Regions from separate parts of the Homo sapiens genome. Here region 1 is linked to region 2. The links are contacts of gene promoters, found by promoter capture Hi-C in human tissues and cell types (Jung and others, 2019). All regions are on one chromosome and are shown on one strand. The core of a region is centred on a gene start or on the middle of the fragment in contact, and the rest is flanking DNA. Distances in the headings are between cores, read along the strand shown.

Evidence for each region. Contacts are between HindIII fragments. The study calls those that stand out against the background at their distance.
Region 1: a contact is called between a fragment that was not itself captured here and the fragment with the promoter of HS6ST3 in region 2, in 1 of the 25 tissues and cell types used here (dorsolateral prefrontal cortex).

What each region holds. Positions count from the first base shown.
Region 1 is chr13:96,131,136-96,136,642 of GRCh38, reverse strand. The region is part of intron 1 of HS6ST3 (heparan sulfate 6-O-sulfotransferase 3); the gene reads right to left. Among named protein-coding and RNA genes, the nearest start is that of HS6ST3, 44 kb to the right of the region's middle. The HindIII fragment of the contact is 3,967 bases long and covers 849-4,815 here.
Region 2 is chr13:96,086,495-96,092,488 of GRCh38, reverse strand. HS6ST3 (heparan sulfate 6-O-sulfotransferase 3) reads right to left here and starts at 2,382. Exons shown (of 2, transcript NM_153456.4): 1 at 920-2,382. The coding sequence starts at 1,626. RefSeq lists enhancers at 2,058-2,558, 2,559-3,059. The HindIII fragment of the contact is 5,364 bases long and covers 1-3,414 here.

The sequences.
Region 1 (5,507 bases), core at 1,583-4,082, 44 kb before region 2:
ATGGTTTGGATTTTTGTCCCCACCAAATCTCGAACTATAATCCCCAGTGTTGGAGATGGGGCCTGGTGGGAGGCGACTGGTTCACGGCGGTGGAGTTCTCATAAATGGTTTAACACCATCCCTCCAACCTTGGTACTGTATAGTGATAGACTCCTCACAAGATGTGATTGTTTAAAAGCGTGCAGCACCTCCCCCTTCTCTCTCTTGGTCCTGGTCCTACCATGTAAGACGCCTGTTCCTGCTCTGCCTTGCACCACGCGTAAAAGCTCCCTGAGGCCTCCCCAGAAGCAGATGGTGCCACGCTTCCATATAGCCCGTGGAAGCCAATGAGCCAATTAAACCTCTTTTCTTTATAAATTACCCAGTCTCAAGTATTGTTTTATAGAAGAATAAACTAATACAATACACAATAAAATTTATTTTCTTTAAAAATCCAATTTAAGGCCAGAGGTAAAATGAACACAAGGTCAAAGAATCACAGAAACTTCTAACCTCCTATAGGGTAAACAAACCTGTGTATTGTAGGTGCACCTGACGGTGATAACTTACCTTAAGCATACCCTCAGAATGACCCTATACGGCAGACACACCTGAATGTGTGTTGGGAGTTCCAAGTGTGGCCAATCAGAAGATTCATTCCTTATCTATGAGAAATATCTGAGCCCACCGGTGGAATGCAGGCTGCACAGGGGAGAGAGGCCCTTTCTTTTGGGGTAAGTGAAGGTTGCCAGGTGTAGTTTGTTGGTGGGGGTGGAGGTGCTCAGTGAAAATGCTATATAAACTGCATGCTTTTTATAAGTGGTAGTGGTTCTTCTGTCCTGCTACCACTGAGCCATCCCTGTAAGTCCTCAATAAAACTCTATGCCTAATTCACTGGCTGTGGGTCTCTGGCCTCTTGAACCGGGCACCATCCCTGCTGAAGTTAATAGGCACAACACCTCCCTAACAACGGCCCTATTAGCCCATCTTGGTCCGCTCTGAAGCAGTATGCCGTGTGGTTTAACAGTTTTCACATTTGAATTGTTTTTCTCCATAAACACAGAAAAACTTGGATCCCTGTAAATTCCACCCATTGCATCTAGTTCTGCCCTAGTTAGCAAACTCCTCTTCCATGACAGCCCTAGGGATACCGCCAATAGCAAACAAATTTTCTTTAAATTCCTCTTATAATTAGACTCAATATTCCTTCAACTGTTCCTCATATGACATGATTTTTAAGTTACCTCACCATTCTATTTTTAAAGTATATGTCTAAGACCAGACTTATGATTCACTGTGTGTTCTTACCATAACAGAGAGCAGTAGAGTTCTACTTTTATTTGTCCAAGTTTGTATTTTCTTTAAAAAAGGAAAGAAAGTCCACGGTGATAACTGCAGCCCACGTGTTCCTGGGACACATGGGAATGAAGGAAGAAGATCAACACACCCAGCAGTCTCCCATAAACCTGCTAAGAAGGGTGGCAGGTCCAACTCAACATGCAAGGCAGGGTGAGGTAGAACAGATTTCAGGAGCATGACTGTGATCTCACTATACAGCCTCCTTCCAGAATGGTCTTTTAGAAGTTTCTTCAGCAATGCCAGGTCTCAGGAGCAGCCTTCCCCTCTGACCTCTTCTTTCAGTAATGTGGCGCAGTGCTGAGAAACTTGCAGGTCCCAATGACTGTGTCAGACAGAATGGATGTGAGACTGTGCAGAGTCTAATATACAACTGACCAATATGGGATGCAAGAAAAGAAAAACTCTAATTCTAATATAAAATATGCCCCTTCCATAAAGAAAACTATTATTCTTGGATCAAAAATGTGTCACATGCAATTCTAGGGGTATCCATGATGATTTCATTTTACCTGGAGAATTCACACTAGGCATATGGAGAGAGATTCTGCAAACCCAAAAGAGCAACTGTGAGAGACGGTCAGGACAAAAACATCCAAGACTACAGAGGCAAGAATGTCCTTGTAATTTTCATCACCAACAAAATGCTTGTGTGTCTTTAATTTTAAGAAATAATAAAGAAATGGAATATATCAGGAAAACAATAGATAAATAAATAAACATGAAAGGGTTTTGAATATTACAATGCAAATAGCTAGTAAAAGTAAAGTCTATACAATAGTTACCAAGAGCTTAGAAATAAAAAGAAAAAATTATGACACTGTTAAAATGGAAATAGGTAAAAAATAAAAATCAGAAAAAGAGCAAAATAAAAAATATTAAATACAGAAAATGAAAAGAAGATAAATAAAGGTAAAACCATGACACCAAAAAAGAGGGGGTAAAAAAATAACACAAGTGAAAAATTACCATATAAAGTATTAAAAGTATTAGAAAAAGATATTAAAATACATAAAGCCATAAGCTGAGACATTTAAGAGTGTAACTGTAATAAGACAAATATAAAAAAAGTTTCAACTTTTCTAAAATTCATAAGATAAAGAAATAAAAGAACAACAAAAGTAAATGGCAATCAAAACAGCAAGGGGCTGGCAAAAAAACAGACACACAGACCAATGGAACAGAATAGAGAGCCCAGAAATAAATCCATGAACTTACAGTCAACTGGATTTCAACAAAGATGCCAAAAATAAACAATGGGGAAAGGACAGTCTCTTCATTAAATGATGTTGAGAAAACAGGATATCTGTATGCAGAAGAATGAAATTGGACCTTTGCCTCACATCATACAAAAATCAACTCAAAATGGATTACATGTTTTAATCCATTTAATCAACTCAAAATGGATTAAAGACTTAAATGTAAGACCTGAAACTGTAAAACTACTAAAAAAAAAAAAAAAAACATAAAAGCTCAAAGAGTTGCTCTGGACAATGATTTTTTTTGTCTATGATCACAAAAGCACAGGCAACAAAAGTAAAAATAGACAAATGAGATTACTCCAAACTAAAAAGCTTCTGCACAGGGCCAGGCAGAGTGGCTCACACCTGTAATCCCAGCACTTTGGGAGGCCAAGGCGGGCAAATCACCTGAGGTCAGGAGTTCGAGTCCAGCCTGGCCAACATGGCGAAACCCCGATTCTACTAAAAATACAAAAATCAGCCAGCCATGGTGGTGCACACCTGTAGTCCCACCTACTCTGGCGGCTGTGGCAGGAGAATCCTTTGAACCCAGGAGGCAGAGGTTCCAGTGAGCCAAGATTGCACCACTGCACTCCTGCCTGGGCAACAGAGTGAGACTCCATCTCAAAAAAAAGATAATAGGTCAGGTGCAGTGGCTCACGCCTGTAATTCCAGCACTTTGGGAGACCGAGGCGGGCGGATCACGAGGTCAGGAGTTCAAGACCAGCCTGGCCAACATAGTAAAACTCCATCTCTGCAAAAAATACAAAAATTATCCAGGCATGGTGGTGGGCACCTGTAATCCCAGCTACTCGGAGGCTGACGCAGGAGAATCACTTGAAACCGGAAGGCGGAGGTTGCAGTGAGCTGAGATTGGGCCACTGCATTCCAGCCTGGGCAAAAAAGCGAAACTCCATCTCAAAAAATAATAATAATTAATTAATTAATTAAAAAGCTTCTACACAGCAAAGGAAACAATAAGGTCAAGAGACAATCCACAGAATGGGAGAAAATATTTGAGAACCATGTATATTATGAGTTAATATCCAAATATAAAAGGCACTCAAAAGATTCAATAGCAAGAAAACAAATAACCCGATTAAAAAAAAATGGGCAAATAAACATGTCTGAAGAGGCATTTCTCAAAAAACATACAAGTAGCCAACATGTATATAAAATAATGCTCCACATTACTAATCGTCAGGGAAATGCAAATTAAAGCCACAATGAGATATTACCTCACACCTGTTATAATGGCTACTAACAAAAAGACAAAAGATAACAAGGGTTAGTGAGAATGTGGAGAAAAAGGGACACCTGTACACTATTGATGGGGAGTATAAATTAATACAGCCATTAGCTGGGGGGTGCAGTGGCTCATACCTGCAATCCCAGCACTTTGGGAGGCTGAGGTGGGAGGATCACTTGAGGCCAGGAATTCAAGACCAGCCTGGGCAACATAGTGGGACCCCATCTCTACAAAAAACTTAAAAATTAGACAGGCATAGTGGCATACGCCTGTGGTCCCAGCCACTCAAGAGGCTGAGCTGAAAGACTGCTTGGGCCTGTAAGGTCGAGGCTGTAGTGAGCTGTGATTGTGTGCCACTGCACTCCAGCCTGGGTGACAGAGCAAGACCCTGTCTTAAAAAAAAAAAAGAAAAAGAAAAAATTCAGCCATTTTAGAAAACAGTATGGAGGTTCCTCAAAAATTAAAAATAGAACTACCATATGATCTCACAATCCCATTACTGGGGCTATATCCAAAAGAAAGGAAATCAATATATTGAAAATATATCTGCACTCCCATGTTCCTTGTAGAACTATTCGTAATAGCTAAGATACAGAATTAACCCACATGTCTATCAACAGATGAATGGAAAAAGAAAATGCGCTCTGTGTGTGTGTGTGTGTGTGTGTGTGTGTGTGTGTGTGTGTGTGTGTGTGTACTGGAATACTATTCAGTCTGAAAAACGGAAGGAAATCTTGTCATTTGCAAAAACATGGATGAACCTAGAGGACATTATGTTATATAAAATAAGCCAGACACACAAAGACAAGTACCACATGATCTCATTTATATGTGGAATCTAAAAAAATTGAACTCAGAGTGTAATGTTTTATAAAAAGTAGAGTACCATATAAAAGTTTTTACCTTTTTTTTTATCTTTTCCATGATATAAGGCTTAGTGAAAACTTCCTAACAATTTTGTGACGTTTGTCAGGTTACAAATTTAAAAATAATTAGATGGTCTCCACGCCATTATCTATCTTAGACATTTTATTTTCTAGGTAATAAATGATATGTGATTAAAAAAAAAAAAGAGTAGAATAGTGGTTACCAGGAGTTAGGGGAGGGAGAGGAGACTAGGGAGATGTTGATCTGATCAAAGGATACAAAATTTCAATTAGATGGGAGGAATAAGGTCAAGAAACTTAACTTAGTGACTATAGTTAATAACAATGTATTATATACTTGAAAATTGCTAGAAAAGTAGATTTTAGGCATTCTCACTACAAATAAATGATAAGCATGTATGGTAATACATAATGTTAATTAGATTTATTTAGTCATTCCACAACATACATATTTCAAAACGTCATGAGTACATCATAAATACATACAATTGTGTCAATTTTTTTAAGTTTTTTTAAAAAAAGTAAACCTCAATAAAATGTTTAACTTCAACCAGTAAGATTTTTTTTAATTTGTTTAAAAGAAAAAATATCCTAAGCCTTAAGTAGACTAATAAACAAAGAAAAACATTCTAAAGAATAAATGGAAGCAGTTTCAATGAATAGAAGAGTTTCTTTAGTAAAGTAAAATATACTCTTCTCTTACATGTAGTTAATGACTTGTTTTGAGTTCAGCTCAAAGGCAGCAGATGTGAAGATTTGACCTTCCAAGACTTACAGTTTCTGGCAAAGGATTTC
Region 2 (5,994 bases), core at 1,133-3,632:
CAAATTATTAAGCCCATGTCTCTCTCAAAGCATGTTAATAATGTAAGCAGTTTCATTGGCTATTAAGATTTTTAACTTTCTTAATTCTCCACTGTATTACTGTTTTTTAAGGCTGGGAGGCAGGGGATCAAGAATGTCATTCCATCCTGAAAACAAGGGATGTTATGTTATCTTTATACTCACTTAACACCTAGCACACTGTCAGGCACCCTGTAGGCATTTAACATACTTTTGGAATAAGTTGATGTAATGGCCTAGGAAGAGCATGGAAATCTTTCTGAGGACAGGTGAGTCCAAATCCTGGCACTGCTGGGCAACAAAGACCATCTCCAGAATTAGAGTTATCTATCGCGGTAGAACAGGAATTTGCACGTGTGTCTTCAAAGTGGCATCAAGAGGATTGACTGTTTCCTGAGCTGCCATCCAAAAGCCACTTAGGGAGGGATTATACTCGTCTCCAGCTTCACCACGCCTGGAAAACTCGTGCCTTGCCTCTCTACTCCCCCTTCCTTTTCCTGGGTTTGGGTTTACACTCCCAAAACTTAAGTTCACAATTCTACAAGGCTGGTCTAACCCAGACCGCGATCCGCTCCCCATTTCAGGGCGTTTTTCCAGCGTCCACTGGGAGGGAGGCCAGGCCGTGCTAGGCAACAGGCAGGATCCACACGGTGGCTCCGCACATCTTAGAGGGTGAAGGCAGAGGGGTGGCGGGAAGCGGTGGGGGCTGGGGGAAGAACGAGTTCAGGACCTAGGCACTATCCGGAGGTTTCTCATCCCTCCCCAAAGCCACGGCGCCAACCGCTGAAGACGCCAGGAAACCATCGGCAGGGGCAGGGAGCGCGGGGTCGCTCTGGGTCAGGACTGAGGAAGAGGGATGGGGGGTGGGGGGGAAGAACAGAGACCCAGCGGGCGACAGTACCTGGTGTGGCTGTGGTTGCGGGGACAGTCCTTCTTCTCCATGATGGCCGGCACGCAGTTGGTGAGCTCCGTCCAGTCGGCGTGCAGCCCGCAGCTCCAGCCGGTGGAGAAGCGGGAGAAGAGCCACGTCTCCTTCTTGCCAGGCCGGTGGCAGGTGCACTTCTTCTGACCCGCTTTGCAGCTACAAGGCTGCTCCAGCCGGATGTTCTTCACCAGGTGCCGGCCGAAAGTGGTGCCCCCCGTCTTCTGGATGTGGAGGAACACGATCACGTCGCGCCCTTTGATGTTGAAATCCACGAAGCGGGTCAGGTCCTTCAGGCTGAAGTTGAAGCGCGGCACGAATCGGGGCAGGGAGCCGTTTTCCGGGGCCTCGGGGTCCGGCTCGTCTTCCTCCTCCTCTTCCTCCCCCTCCCGGGGGTCTCCGGGCTCCTCGTCCTCCTCCTCCGGCGCCGCGGCCCCCCGAGGTCCCTCGGGGGGCCCCCGGGGCGGCGGGGGCAACTGGGGCCGCCGCTCCCACTCCTCCGGCGGCGCCTGAGCCCGGCGGGCGGGACCCGGGACGGCGGGCGGGCCGGCCTCCCCCGCGCGGGGCTGCTCCCCGAAGTTGGTGCAGGAGCTGGTGCAGGAGGGGGACACGTACTGGTACATGATGACCACGAAGAGGAGAGTGAGCACCGGCGTCAGCAGCCACTTGTTGAACCTTTCATCCATGGTCCCGCTCTCAGGCCGGCAGGCGAAGCGGCGGCGGCGGCGGCGGCAGGGCGGACGGGCGCCCGCTCGGAAGTTTCGCGGACTCCGGGGCGCGGCTCGGAGCCCGCCGTTCCTCCATGCCCCTGACGCCGAGGCGTGTGGCTGGCTGGCGGCCCCGCGGCCCTCGGGGCTTGAGGAGCCGGGGCCTGCGAGCCGGGCGGGGGAGGCGGGCGCCGGCGCGCTCGGCTGCGGCTGCGGCGTGGGGCGCCCTGCGCTCCCGGGTGCGCCCGGGCCGGCCCGCTCCCTGCTCCCGCCCCGGCGCGGCTCTCTCAGGCGACGCGCGGCATCCCGCCGGCGGCTTGCAGGCGCTCAGGCGCTGGGGAGCGGGGTTCGGGTCCTGGACCTGCCGCGCGCAGCCGGGCAGCCGGGTAGCTGCGGCCGCGAGCGCCGGGGCTGCATGAGGCTCGCCAGGGCGCCGGCCAAGGGCGAAGGCGCGGCCCGCTCCCGCCGCCCCGGCCGGCCGCGGGCACCGCGCCCGGCACGCGCGCCCGGCGCCTTTGCCGGCAGGTCGCGGGGCTGTGGAGCCGCGAGGGCTGACGGCGCTCGCCGCAAGTTTGCAGAGCGGCCCCCGCAGCGCAGCGGCAGCGGGCGAGGCGCCTCTGCGGAGACGCCTCTCCCGGCGAGTCGCACTGCCGCTCCGGGCTGTCCGCCCAGGCGCAGGCACGCAGACACACTCGCACACACAGGCTGGCACCGCCACAACCCGCCAGCCGGTGTGACAGGAGCCCTGCTACCCGCAGCAAAAACCTGCCCTAGGTACGGAGCATGCGCCAAAGCCTCCCCCAGCCCCGGAGGAGTTTCCAGGGGAGGAGTCCGCTGCTCCGCGGGGCTCGGAGGAGGCAGCTGGGGGTGGGAATCCCTTCGGCCGGGAGCAAGGAGAGATTTGGCAGAAAGGCAAAGGTGGGGCGAGAGGAGGCCCCGAGGTAAGCGTCGCTGGCGTTGATCTGACACCTTAAAATGGGCAGCTTCTCTGTCTGGTAGTGGCCGGCCTTATTTTCAGGAATAACACCTGCACACTCCCGGGAACACTCACTAGACCAGACTTTACACGGGTTGGCAGTTCCCTTCTCAGCAGGGGAACGTGGCTCCAGACTGCTGTGAATTTCTACCCAAGACATTCTAACTGGTGTTCGAGTTTTATGGTGGTCCTCCCTTAATAACAAACTTGGTGCGTCCAACTATACAACTGTATTCAACCAGCATCAATTAACCATTAAGCGCCTAACTGTGTATCAGGCTCTATGTTCAATACACACTTTCTTTCAGCACTAGACAGTCCAGCCCTCAACCATGCAGTACTTAGAACATAAAAAGGAGTTTAGGGATCACCTCCTAAAAAAATCATTCTACTAATAGACGTTGAACTCCTAAATGTTCAAGATTTATTCCTTCCCAACAATGGTGGAAGATAACACTTAAGCTTGCCTATATTTCATAAGCCCTAATTTGTATGCAGATGTTTTTTGGAAACTTTATTTTTCAAACATCTAGATGTTGCATTTAGTATTACCCCAGAACTAAATCTTTGCTCAATAACAACTTCTGTTTTTCAGATAGTGAAAAGATATACGATCAAATTGTTGTAACTGCCCTACCACAGTCCCTAGACCTGCTCGACCTATTTTCCGAGTGGAGAGTGGCAATGTGTTAAAGGCAATGTGTGAGGACAATGCAGTGTGATTCCCTGGCCCAGACCAATGTGTCCCTCCCAGCTACACTACCGTATTCCACAGGTGTGCTATAATATTTCATAGCAGCCCACCGTCCCATCTGGCCTTTTTATGAATCCATGCACTTGTTTCTTCCTGAGACACTCTGTCGATGTCATCTATTTATCAGGGTGTCCCCTCTGCAGCCATCAGTGAAGATCCAGGGCTCTTTCAGGGATGCTAAAGTTTGCCCATAGGATACTATTTTCCTTGTTTAGACAGGTGGAATTCTTCTCAATAAAACTTCCCTCCTCTATTTCCTTTCCCGTTTTCAACTCTTTAAACAACTCCAACCCTTGCCTTTCCTAATATGTAGGAGGCTATATCAGTAGAAAAGGTGTTGGGTGAGATGAATCAGCTTCTTTAAAGCTTATTTGATTCTATTTCTTTTTCTCTCACTTAAGTTTGAAATCCTATTAATGGCATCACACCCCACTCCACAGCAAGAAACTGTGATAAAACAAAAGCCCAACAATTATTTTCTGAATGTGTCTGCTTAATATACACATACCTCTGCTTTAGTTAAGTAAAACATCATTATACCTTTTTATATCACCTTATTGAAGAAGCTTCTCATTTCCTATAAAATTGCTTGATATCACATGGATAAACATCACCTTATTAGCTACCAAAATGGATAACCAGAATGCTAGTGGTAGTTTGTATAGTGGAAAGCACTCTCCTAGCCATTATTTCATTTGCTTCTCAGAACAACACTCTAAGGAGATAAGAGAAGTATAATATCCCATTTCAGAGATGAGGAAACTGAAGCAAGGAAAGTTAGGTGAAAGCAAAGCCAAATTAGAAACTGCTAACATCCCGAAAATACAGTCACTGAAGAAGTTCAACAAACATCAACAACAGAGCCCATAATTTCCTCTCTCCCCTCTTGAGACCATTTGAGTCAAGAGGCAAGAAGAGACAACAGAATTGCAATAGAATAATTAAATTATGTTATCTCTCCTCCTGACTTTATAGGCAAAGCTGAGCAATTCTACATCCTGCAGTATTTTGTCACTTAGTCTATTAGTTTCAAGAAAGAGGGAAAAATAACAATAACAATCATAAAATGATTATATAATTGTTAAATCACTTAGGAGAATTGTAAAAATAAAATGTACGACAAACATGTAGCAGCTACATTGCTAACAAAACGTGTATTTCCATAAATAAGTGTACCTTTAACACTTTTCAAAGAACATTATCTCCGAAAATCTCGTTTTATTTTCAGTAAAATAGCTACTGAAGTGACTCCATTTCCTTGAGGTAACCACAAGGAAAACAATGCATAGAATCAAGGCAATTACACAGACAATTCAGGCATTTACTCAAAAATTCATTTTTTAATAATAGGTAACTTTGGTCGTGTAAATACAGTCTGTCCCAGGTGTGGTCTCCCTATTACAGTTGTGGAACTTGGTGTGAACCTAATCAAAGCTCTTAAATCACACAATAAACAGCCTTCCTTATCTACAAGGGCAGACCTCACATTCAGGCAAAAATGAATAGAAACTTTCTAAAATTGAACGCTCTCCAGGTAAAAAGGCAAAACATACTTGCATTCAGTCTACTATAGTTACTCCACGATGACACCAGCTGGCAATTGTTTCTCCCTAACATATAGCAGCTACTATGATTCCCACACAAATTATTAAAATAATAAAAATAATGTTTTCAAAGAGCTTTCTTCCACTTCCTTTGCCGGTCTAGCAATGAGCTTAACACTATCTGTGAAGCAATTTGTTCACCTAATTTTATGCCTTAATAAGCTTTACTACAATTATTTTCTTGCCTGATTCGTTCTCTGCCTTGACTTTAGTATACTTCCTCCCTGTTCTTCTGCAATATTCTCAAACCTGTTAACAACATCGCACTCCCCCAGGATTCAAACTTTTGATTAGAACAGTCCCCATTTAATCAAGTTCAATTGGGAAATAAAATTGCATCTCAACTTCTCCATTTTCCCTTTGGTGCCAGAAACTGCCTTGAGAATGTTGAAGAAACCCTGGAGAGATTAACAATCCAAATGATCACAGAGGATAGTTTTGGATCCCCTACATTTGCACAGAGGAAGAGAGATTTGAATGCCCCTCAATAGAGATGAAAATAAAACAGATAATGTAAGTCATTGGCAGCATGACTCTCTCCTACAAGAATGGAAAGTGCTCTTATATACTGAAATGACTTTTGTTTTTCAGTTTTGTAAACAATCTTTCTCCCCACAAAAGCCCCTGGGGTAAGCAGTTTTGCAAATAACCAGCAAAGTGACAGCTTTCTTTTTCCTCAGGAAGTTAAGCAGACAGAGCCCACATAGTTAGAACCAATGGCAGAAAGAATTGGGATATATACTGATTGTGATATATTCCGGTTCACTATATGATTGTAACTTTGGGGCAACCATGACCCTACATACCACTTTCCATAAAGTTCTATTTATCTGAACAGTTCATTCTTTGCCTTACTGTGTAACATCCACCATAGATAGCTGCCTATGAGAATGAATGGAAACCATCTGTATGTATAATGTATTCATTAACTCAGTATAGTGTAAGTAGATGCACTAATCTTTTCCCAATAGATATTCTTTTATTTCTTTGATAAGGACTTGTTAAGCATTTGC